Regions from separate parts of the Homo sapiens genome. Here all the other regions are linked to region 2. The links are contacts of gene promoters, found by promoter capture Hi-C in blood cells and fetal thymus (Javierre and others, 2016). All regions are on one chromosome and are shown on one strand. The core of a region is centred on a gene start or on the middle of the fragment in contact, and the rest is flanking DNA. Distances in the headings are between cores, read along the strand shown.

Region 1 (3,213 bases), core at 140-2,639, 80 kb before region 2:
ATACCTCTGTAAGGGTTTTTATTTGTCCACCTTCGATGGAAGGTAAACATGGCTGATCCCAGCCAAGATGAAACAATAGCCCTTTGTCTCCTCAGAACAACCTATCTCCAACTCTTTGTCCACTGTTCTTACCCCAATTAAAACAAGAAAGCATGTGCTAATCCTTTTTTAATTTTTATCAACCTGCCTTGGCCTCCTTTCACTGTACTCCATTATTCCTTCTGTGATGTTCTACCTTCTTCACCTTTTGAGACCAGGGTGAGTTGGGAGCAGTTTGCCTACCTTCTTTTAGAATCTGGGGCTTATCTTTTAGTACAAGCCATTGAATAAGCCTCTTCCTTTTTTTTGCTCAAACATTCCACATCCTTGTGGATTCCCCTGCATTGTTTGTTTTATATAACATTTGATATTTGTTGTAGCTTGTATATGAACATAATTTTCTTTAGAGGTAGTCACTGTTCTCTCCAGTATGACCCAGGTTTCTTGACTCTGAGTAATGCACCTTCTATAACTATCTAAATTTCTATTGAAGCTTTTTGGATTATGAGTATGCTGACTTTTCACGATTGGCTGGTGCATGTTTAGACTTAAATGTCATATCCTTCATGTCTCAAAGCCAAAATAGTAACATCTCATCTCAGAACAGAGCTGTGACCACATGCCAATATATGTGTCACAAAGTCTACATATGTTACATTCCTTGGAAGTCTCCTTAAATGTTTCACAAAATGTCAACAAGCTTGTTTTGTTATTGATATTTCCGAGATTGGGCACATTTAAGACAGTAAACGGGAAAGGTGGTGAAGATGCTATAAGAAGATGCTGTATCTTGAGAATTGAAAAATGAGAATCTGACATGGTTTGAAAAATCATGAAGGGTATATATAAAGGATGCATGTGTAGGAGCCATTAAAATTCATAACAGTATGTGCCCCTTCAGCGTTTTAATCTTATGAAGTGGTTAAGAGATAAGTCTTCGGAGTTGGACAAAAGGATTTGAATTTAGGTTCTGTGGATTATTATGGGTCCTTGATAAATTCTCAAAGCCTTTTTTTTTGTTCATCTCTAAAATAGGAATATAGGATTACCTACCACATTGACTCGTAAGGACTATATGAGACCATGTATATAGAATGTTTAACATAGTACCAGGCTTTACAAAGAACTCAATAAATGTTTACCATTATTGAAATAGTTTTGTAGACTGAGGATCTCATTATTTTACAGCCTTGAATTATGTCCTGTATACTCTGTTAAAGAAACTGGGAAAAAAATGCCAACTGGTTGTTTCTGGGTGGCGGAATTATGGCTGTTTCTTTTCTTTTTTAATTTCTATAGTAAGTTTGAATAACTTTCATAACATTTAGGAAAAAATATTAAAGGAAAGAAAAAAGATCAGGGAATTTAAATATATTTTTAGTAGATATTTTTATCCAAACTTAATTCTTAGAATGATAAACACATAGTTTACCAGAAAACTCAGCTGTTCAAAACTACTCAGTCCCCAAAGGACTCAGGTAAACAGGCTGAGGGTTTTATATATAGAGCGCTCTAGAGTTTCCTTTTTCTGTCATTTTTTTCTCCATGTTAGTGAAAAAAACATGGGAATCTTAAGACATTAAGCCGTTTCTCCTTTTCTAGGTAATATTACTTCTAAATGGAGAATTGTTTGTGTTGTTTTTCATCTCAAATGGAAACAGTATTTCTTTGAAGTTTTTCACATCCCTTATGATCAGGAAGTTCTGTCAGCTGCTATATTAAAGTCCTCCTGCTATAACTTACTCAGTCTTCTCTGTACTTATATGAATTTGATTAAGTATCTTCTTTTCCAGAGTTTCCATAATCATAGATTACTCTCACATCTTTCTTCCACCAACAGTAGAAAATATTTTGGTGGAAATGTTATGATACTACATTGCCTCTAACTTAAATATGTTCACTTTTAAAACCATCATGACTGTTATATTCAAACTCAAATACTTTTCTTAGAACAAATGAACCTAACTCCACCATTAACGTGGTTAGTTCAGTAAGCTTTATACATTTTGAAAGTAATGTTTGAATTATAAAAGCAGAATAAGCCCATTATTTTTCAGCTTTCAAAAAATTATATAAAGATGAGAAAAAATACTATATGGCACTAAAATGTGTATTTAATGATTTGATCACAGAGTAGTAATGGCTCTTTGTTCTAGATTTTTACAGCTCCTCTCTACCCAGGAACTCCATCTATAACTTAAGTATGCACAACAGCCATGAGTCCAAAAGTTTTGACATACCATAATGGGCGAATATAGAAAAAGTAATTTCATATCCTTAGTGGGTTAAAAGGCAGTATCAATAATACAAATATCTATGTTAATGTGCTCTAAAACTGGGCTTTTACTTGAGTTGTTGCCATTCTAAACCCAAGCAACTTTTGAATAAGATGAACTTTTTATAATTATAATGTAAATTATGTTTGTTATCATTAGAAATATTACCAATTATATGACCACCAGAGTGAGAGACTGTGTTTTTTTATTGTGCTTGAGCCTAAGTTGACATTTTTTAGTTGCAAAGACTACACTTTTCATTTTCTTCTCTTGCAGTTATCATATCCTCTGTTGCAGAAGAGTCTGCCCAGCAGCCAAAAAGGGAAATAACACAAAAAAGATTTGTGCCTTATCTCACCAACCATATGAGGCCTTTTAACTTTTAAAATTTTTTTTACTCTGCTCTGTTACACTAAGCTATAAACTACCCACTTATGCATGGCATTATATTGATAACAAAGCACATTTTGAAATCTTTTCTGGCTTTTTTACATGGTACAGATTCAGTTTTGTTAATAGTAGGTACTTAGAGTGACCCATATTGTGTGTTGAACAAAGGATAAAGTTCTAGTCTCAGAATTTAGAATGCTCTTAGGCTGTTCCATCCTCTAAAATAGTTTAATCCATAAGCTCATTAGGCTGCAGAAAGGAATCTCCTGAGGGAGTTATTCTGAAGAAGGGAAGTTCCTCTGGTCTGGTGTCTACTAGAATTGCTTTTCCTTGAAACTCTGCCTTCTTCTGGAAGGCAGAAATCTAACATGATTCAATGGCTACAGCTGTGGAAGTGTGCAGAGGAAAGGTGAAATCATTATAGAATACTGAGGAATACTTTGACAGAAATTATCCTTACTCTTTTTCCATTGAAGTGGGGTCCCCTGAGGTAACCAGAGGTGTGATG
Region 2 (3,458 bases), core at 102-2,601:
GGGGGACAAGAGGGAGACGTCACTCAAAAAAAAAAAAAAAAAAATTAAGGCACAATACGTGAACTTGAAGAACATACAGTTCTCTTTTATTTAACAAACACTTACGTAACCAGCCCGGTGCTGTGCGAAGTGCTTTACATTGTCTCGTTTGATTTACTTAATAAACTCCTATTTGAATCAAATGGGGTGGAGTAGGGGCTTCCTGGAATTTGGCTTACCTCGCCATCTCCCCCCACCCTTTCCCCTCAGTGGAGAGGCAACCAGAGAGAAAAGAAATTGAGCTGCTCTGAAGGGCAAGGCCTCCTCCTACTTCCCGCAGCTGTTTCGCCAGACTTGACCTTCTTCCCTTAGCTAGAGGCAGGGGGTCTCCATCCCTCGCCCAGATCTAGTTGGTGGGAAGGTGGGTGGCTTTTTTCGGGTCACTGGCGCACCCTCTCTACTTCCAGCCACCTGCTCGGGTTCCATCCCGGCTCCAGGCTCCCCGGAGGGCGGCAGGGACATTCCAATCCTCCCACAACCCTCACGGATGTTGCGGGGGAGGGGGGTGCAATTGCTCTTCTCTTCCAACACCCAGCTTTTTCTTCTCAATCTCTAGTGGCCTGAGTCACCCCCGTAGAGGAAATTAAGGATTGATGAATGGTTTGAAAGTTGTTTGTTTACAACCCACCCGTTGGCGAAGCCGCATCTCCAGTGACAGAGGCACTTTCTGGGCACCGTCTGTGCTCTAGCAGACAATTGAGAGCCAGGCAGCCAAGATGCCTCCTCGCCAGACCAAATATGGTCACAAGAGCTAAGCAGCCTCTCGTGGAAAAGCTGGCCTTGTTGGTGTCTCCCCGCGCCGGGGCGCACCCGGGCCGGCCTTCGGGCAGAATCGCGGGTCAGTGCGGCGCTCCGGGTGCTGCAGGCCTCGGCGCCTGGCTGCAGGGGAGGGCGCGGTGTCCAGGACCGGCCCTTCCTAGGCCTGAGCCCCTCATCCGCGTGCCCTCCGCCACCCCCGGCCTTGGTTTCGGTCCACAACCCCTTGATGAAACAGGCTCAGGCCACTTTCCCTTTGATCCCGCCCCAAGTCCGTGGTAAACTCAAAGGAATGCAGATGCAGGTCTGAGCGGGAGAGGTCCGCGCGGCCGGGAGGAGTGGGTGGGGGGCACCCGTCTCCTCTTACCCAGTAAAGTACCCATCACGCCCAGGGTTTTCTGGAGCCGAGGTGGGAGGAGGAGGAGGAGGAAGAGGAGGGGCGAGCGGGGGCTGGCCGGCTAGGGACTAGGAGGTCATACATAATTCAACAGCTCAACTTTCGGGCCCGCCTCTTTCCTGGGGGTGGGAGTTTGCTCCAAACTTTGTTTATGGGACAGTCCGGGAGCTGCTGCGGCCGCGCTGTCTGCTTCTCCTGCGCCTCCTTTTCGCCCAGCACTAGCGCCTTAGGCCAGCTCGGGGGATGTGAGAGCCGAAGCCCTTAGACTGCCAGGCACAGAGTCGGGTCGGGATTTGTCAGCCAAGCCTCGGCTCCAGCTCCGCAATCTCGGGACTCACCCGAGCGACCCAGGCCCGACGGCAAGTTCGGGCGGGACGGCGGCCGCCGCGCGCTCAGGCTCAGCTTCGCTGCCCGCCCAGGTAGTGCCCGCTGGAGCTCGCGCGCTCATCCGGCACCACTCCAGGGCTCCAGGCTCCTCGGGCTTCCGGAGTCGAGACGTGGTGGAGTTGGCTCGGGCTGAACTTCTTTCGGGGGGCTGCCTGTCCTGGAATCGTGCGACCTTTCCTTTGCCATCCTGCGGTTCAGCAAGCCCCGAGTGCAGTTATTCCCTCCACCCCTCGCCCTATCTTCTCCTCCTCCAGGCAACTTCTTTGCTTCAAGAAAGTTGCATAATTCTCGAGGCCAGGAGGGACCCCTCCCCCATCCTGCTGGTCTTACCGCTGAGTGTCTGGGATCTCCAGGCGGGCAATTATCTGTCTCCTCGTTTCCTTTTCCCTCTATTCTTTCTCCCACCATCTCGCCCTCTCACCCTGTAACCCTCTTACCCACTTCCTCCGACTTTAAATAAAAGGCTGATCTGACCTTCTTTTTGCAGAAGATGAATCCGGCCTCGGCGCCCCCTCCGCTCCCGCCGCCTGGGCAGCAAGTGATCCACGTCACGCAGGACCTAGACACAGACCTCGAAGCCCTCTTCAACTCTGTCATGAATCCGAAGCCTAGCTCGTGGCGGAAGAAGATCCTGCCGGAGTCTTTCTTTAAGGAGCCTGATTCGGGCTCGCACTCGCGCCAGTCCAGCACCGACTCGTCGGGCGGCCACCCGGGGCCTCGACTGGCTGGGGGTGCCCAGCATGTCCGCTCGCACTCGTCGCCCGCGTCCCTGCAGCTGGGCACCGGCGCGGGTGCTGCGGGTAGCCCCGCGCAGCAGCACGCGCACCTCCGCCAGCAGTCCTACGACGTGACCGACGAGCTGCCACTGCCCCCGGGCTGGGAGATGACCTTCACGGCCACTGGCCAGAGGTACTTCCTCAAGTAAGTCAGCCTGGAGCCGAAGAAGGCACCAAGTCACAGTGCCCAACGCGCGCGTGTGTTCGTGTGTGTGTGTGTGTGTGTGTGAGAGAGAGAGAGAGAGAGAGAGAGAGAAAGAGAGAGATGGTGCGTGTCCTTCCACGGTTATTTCACAGATATGGAGAGCTGGAAGCAGGGAGTGAGTCTCTGAGTGTTGGAATTGTAAGGGATCAGAAGCAGGGATCAGAAGCAGTGGTGAAGTTCATCCACCATAAAACACACAGGTGACTTTGCCTTGAATCTGCAGGACTGAAGCCAACTCTTGGGCACAGACCCTTAGTCCCTTCCTTGGCCACTCTAAGTCAGATAGTCCAGAGCCAGGCCCTTTGGGATGTGACACCGAGATAAATCAGAGAAAAGCTGTGAAGCTTGGGGAACAGAGGGACTTTTGGTGAAGTAGGTGGTCTGCAGTTTCTATCTTCTTGGGAAAAGCAAGCTGGAAAAGTGAACAGTGGTTGGTAGGCCATAGTGCTCCCAGCTGGGTGACATAATGACCACACAGCACAGTGATGTTATTAGCAACTGTGTGGTGGAGTAGTTGTGGGCTGGACAAATCAATCGTGTGGAAATTGTTAGGAGTTTTATTACATTAAACTTGTTAACCTAAAATACCATCAAATCACAAGCCTGCTTTGTCACTCTTCTTCCTTTCACATTGTTCCAGCTTTTTGATGTCATGAATTTTACATTAGTTGAAATTTTCAAATTACACCCCACAGGAAAATATATTCTCAAACACTAGAGGAGGTTGTTTCAATTGTGGTACCCTAAGATAACTACATTCCTCAGGAGAAACCAGGCTGGAACTTGAAATGTTCCATTGAGGTCATAGGGTCAGGCTATCAAAGATGGAGGTTGTGCCAGCCTAACCACTTGTTTCAGGATTGCCTGCACTGCCAGTGAGGGAAACTCCTCTCCTAAG
Region 3 (3,357 bases), core at 104-2,603, 68 kb after region 2:
TAATTTCAGAATACATTGCAAAAATGTTTTTTGTGTAAATGTTTTAAAACATAAGATATTATCATGAAAAGGTAATTTCTTAGAAAAATTGGAATTTATCTCTACTACTTTTTTTTGTTTAGAGAAAATTTAGGAAAAGTGAATGTACATCTTGAATTTTAGTTAAGTAATTACAGTTATATAGTCAATTATAAAGGCTGGTTACATAGCTTATTATAGACTGAACACATTTTATACAACAGCCCTATTTGAATATTTTCCCTAGTTATTAAAATAATGAAAACATTAATAAAAACTAAAGGCAATATGATATTAAAAGCATTAATAAAAATGGAAGGCAAGTTAGGCTAAAGTTACTATCAGAGACTGGCTTCTGAAGGAACAGGTTTTGGCTTTCCAAGTGGCAGGGCCTTAAGAATCACATCCCCAGCTCTGGCTTAGGGTTCCAGCATTGCTCATGGCATATTCAGCTGTTGCCTTGCATCTCCAAATCTATCTTCAGAGTCCTTTTACCTCTTCCTTTTAGGTCATAGTGGAGAGTTGGCGTTCCGCTTTGTATTTATGTTTTTTTAAGTAGTATTTGTATTTCTTTCTTTCCTTTCTCCCTAACAACTACAGGATCACATGGACCTAATTTGTTTTATTGTCACAAGAGTCCCTTTTCTTGACAGGATATGCCTAATTAAAACCAGGGTGTTAAAAAAAAAAAAAAAGCTAAGTTTTGCAGGCAAGTTGACATACTGTGTGACTCAAGGGTTTCAGGAGGGACAAGGAGGGATGGTGGTGTGTTATTGAAGCAAGAGGAGGACCAAGCCTGCAGGAGATATTGTTCCAGGACAAAGTCAGGCTATCAGCAGTGCTGACGGTCCACCTCCCCTTTTCCTTCCTTCCTAATGGCCCAAGTTATGCACGTCAGCCTCTTTGGGTTCACAAGGCAGTATTGTATCATGGAAAAAGCCCTAGACCTTATTATGAGAACAAGATTTGACTCTGCTCTGCCACATGGAAACTAAGAACTTATTAAGTAGGTTTACTTCACCCAACTCTGTTTCTGTATCTTTTTTTTGAGACGGAGTCTCCCTCTTGTCACCCAGGCTGGAGTGCAATGGCATGATCTCGGCTCGCTGCAACCTCCACCTCCCGGGTTCAAGCGATTCTCCTGCCTCAGCCTCTCGAGTAGCTGGGATTACACCCGCCACCATGCCTGGTGAATTTTTGTATTTTTAGTAGAGATGGGGTTTCACCACGTTGGCCAGGCTTGTCTGAAACTCCTGACCTCAGGTGACCCGCCTGCCTCGGCCTCCCAAAGTGCTGGGATTACAGGTGTAAGCCACCGCACCCGGCCCATTTTTATTTCTTAAAAACAGAGATTAGTAAGCCTGTTATGTAATGATCAAGTTAAGATCATTTTTGAAGCCATAAAATGGTATATAAATGTCAACTATTATTATCAGACATTAACAGCATGGTTATTGTGAATATTATGACTAATAATTAATATGAATAATTATTATTGTAACTATCATTATTACCATGATTGTCATTATTAGGAATATAAGTAGCAATTCATTCAACATACATTTATTATTTAGTGTCTATTGTATGCTAGATATGGTGGACTTTCAGGACCCATGGTGTATAGTACCTGGTAGAGGCTCAGCCGAGCAGTTTGCAGAATCAACAGGAATGAATTGAGAATGACTTAATTTGTTTAATAGAATGTGACAGCATTCTCTAGAATTTGTTCCTTTCTGGGGCAAGTAAGGAACAAATCTTCCTAGATTAGTTTTATGAGTACTTACAGATAAAAACATATATGATGTGAATAAGATTCAACTGTTATATTTGATACCTAGAAGCAAAATGATTTGTCGAAGTAAACCCATTAAATATGTTCATTCATTCATTCATTCATTCCTTTAATTCAGTCACTTATTCTATGAGTAGTTTTTTAATGTCTGCTGTGTGTAAGGCCTTCTGCATTTAGTCCATAGTTGGGGCTACTGAGAAGTTGAAAGCTGCTTTAAAGTCTCCTTTCATTTTAACACCATTAAAAAAAAAAAAAACTCATGGAAAGGAAAAATCTAAATGTATCCTGTAAAGAAAATACCATTTCCTCTGGTAATTATGATGGTCTATATCCTGTTTAACTCATTGCACGGGGTTCCTCTCCAAGTCAATGAGGATTGCGTAAAGAGTCTGAAGGCAGGATGTGCCTCATAGTGGGATGAGAAGGAGCCTTGTGGCTGGTCGTCAGACTAAATTTAAACCATTATTTGTTGTGAATATATGATTAACGTGGGGGTTAAAAATGAAAAATACAGCTGCAAGAGTAGGTTTCTTCCTTTGATAAAAACAGAAAAAGTCAGGAGGGACAAGAAGAAAACAAACACAGTTACGTGAGGCATGCATTCTCTTTCATAAGAACAGTCAAATATATTTTAGCCTAATCTTTCTTTCTAGATACAATAAATGCCGCTCCCTTCTGGATTAGGCAGATGACAGCAATAACAGTATTGCAGCTGGGAGTCTCCCAGGCTGACAGGTGCTGGATATAAGATGCCCCAGATTGTCCTGTGAAGTACAGGACATGCTAGGCCCTGCTGGATCTGCCCAAGGAGAGGGCAGCTCCTGTGTCTGTTGACACCTCGTTTAGATTCTCCCGCTCACTCAAACAGCTGCCAGAGGCAGCCGTAAAATATTGCTTAATTATAGAACTTCCCTTGATCCTCTTTATCCCTTCCTTCTATTGCATTTTTCCCCCTTTTGTGCCTCTCTCTAGTTCAGAGCACCTTTAGGCTAAGCACTCATGGGAGTATTATGGTGGCGCCTTTTCCAACTCACAGTTAAGGCAGAGACAAGATTTTCAGTCCTGCACTATAGCTGTGGAATTATTTTCAGAGGCTGTAATGAGCAGGTATAGGTTCAAATGTGGAATGCAGCATCATTTTTTAAGCAGGAAATGGGTTCATTTTGGGGGGAGGATAGCTTTCTCATTTTTTTTCTGATTAGAAAAATAATGCTTATTGTACAAAAAGAACAAAGAAATGTAAAGATATGAATAAAGCCTACTTCCCCCTTGTTCATATGTGTTCTATTTACCAAAACGGGATTATGTTCACTCCCACAATATATTTTAGCAAATACAGATCCATGTAATTTATCATGTCTGTTCAGTCTTCCACTGTCTGACTGTACCATAATTTGTTTAACCATTCTATCATCATACACTAAAGATAGAAACAAAACCGCTGTGGACATCCTTAAGCATACATTCTGCATACTTGTATTGGTTTGGAGTCATGTTTGTGATTTACAGGGATGCGAAATGAGATCATTTATTTCTCTAACATTAAG

What was found. Contacts are between HindIII fragments. The CHiCAGO score rates a contact against its expected background, and 5 or more counts as called.
Region 1: a contact is called between a fragment that was not itself captured here and the fragment with the promoter of WWTR1 in region 2, in 1 of 17 cell types (endothelial precursors). The highest score is 7.2, in endothelial precursors.
Region 3: a contact is called between a fragment that was not itself captured here and the fragment with the promoter of WWTR1 in region 2, in 1 of 17 cell types (endothelial precursors). The highest score is 5.7, in endothelial precursors.

Annotation. Positions count from the first base shown.
Region 1 is chr3:149,736,453-149,739,665 of GRCh38, reverse strand. It overlaps COMMD2 (COMM domain containing 2), which reads left to right. Exons shown (of 5, transcript NM_016094.4): 5 at 1-1,194. Among named protein-coding and RNA genes, the nearest start is that of COMMD2, 14 kb to the left of the region's middle. The HindIII fragment of the contact is 1,295 bases long and covers 742-2,036 here.
Region 2 is chr3:149,655,918-149,659,375 of GRCh38, reverse strand. WWTR1 (WW domain containing transcription regulator 1) reads left to right here and starts at 1,351. Exons shown (of 7, transcript NM_015472.6): 1 at 1,351-1,611; 2 at 2,067-2,500. The coding sequence starts at 2,070. It overlaps WWTR1-AS1 (WWTR1 antisense RNA 1), which reads right to left and starts at 1,166. Exons shown (of 3, transcript NR_040250.1): 1 at 668-1,166. RefSeq lists enhancers at 498-707, 1,268-1,337, 945-1,524 and a silencer at 878-1,037. The HindIII fragment of the contact is 3,935 bases long and covers 1-2,906 here.
Region 3 is chr3:149,588,356-149,591,712 of GRCh38, reverse strand. The region is part of intron 2 of WWTR1 (WW domain containing transcription regulator 1); the gene reads left to right. Among named protein-coding and RNA genes, the nearest start is that of WWTR1-IT1, 62 kb to the left of the region's middle. The HindIII fragment of the contact is 4,706 bases long and covers 1-3,357 here.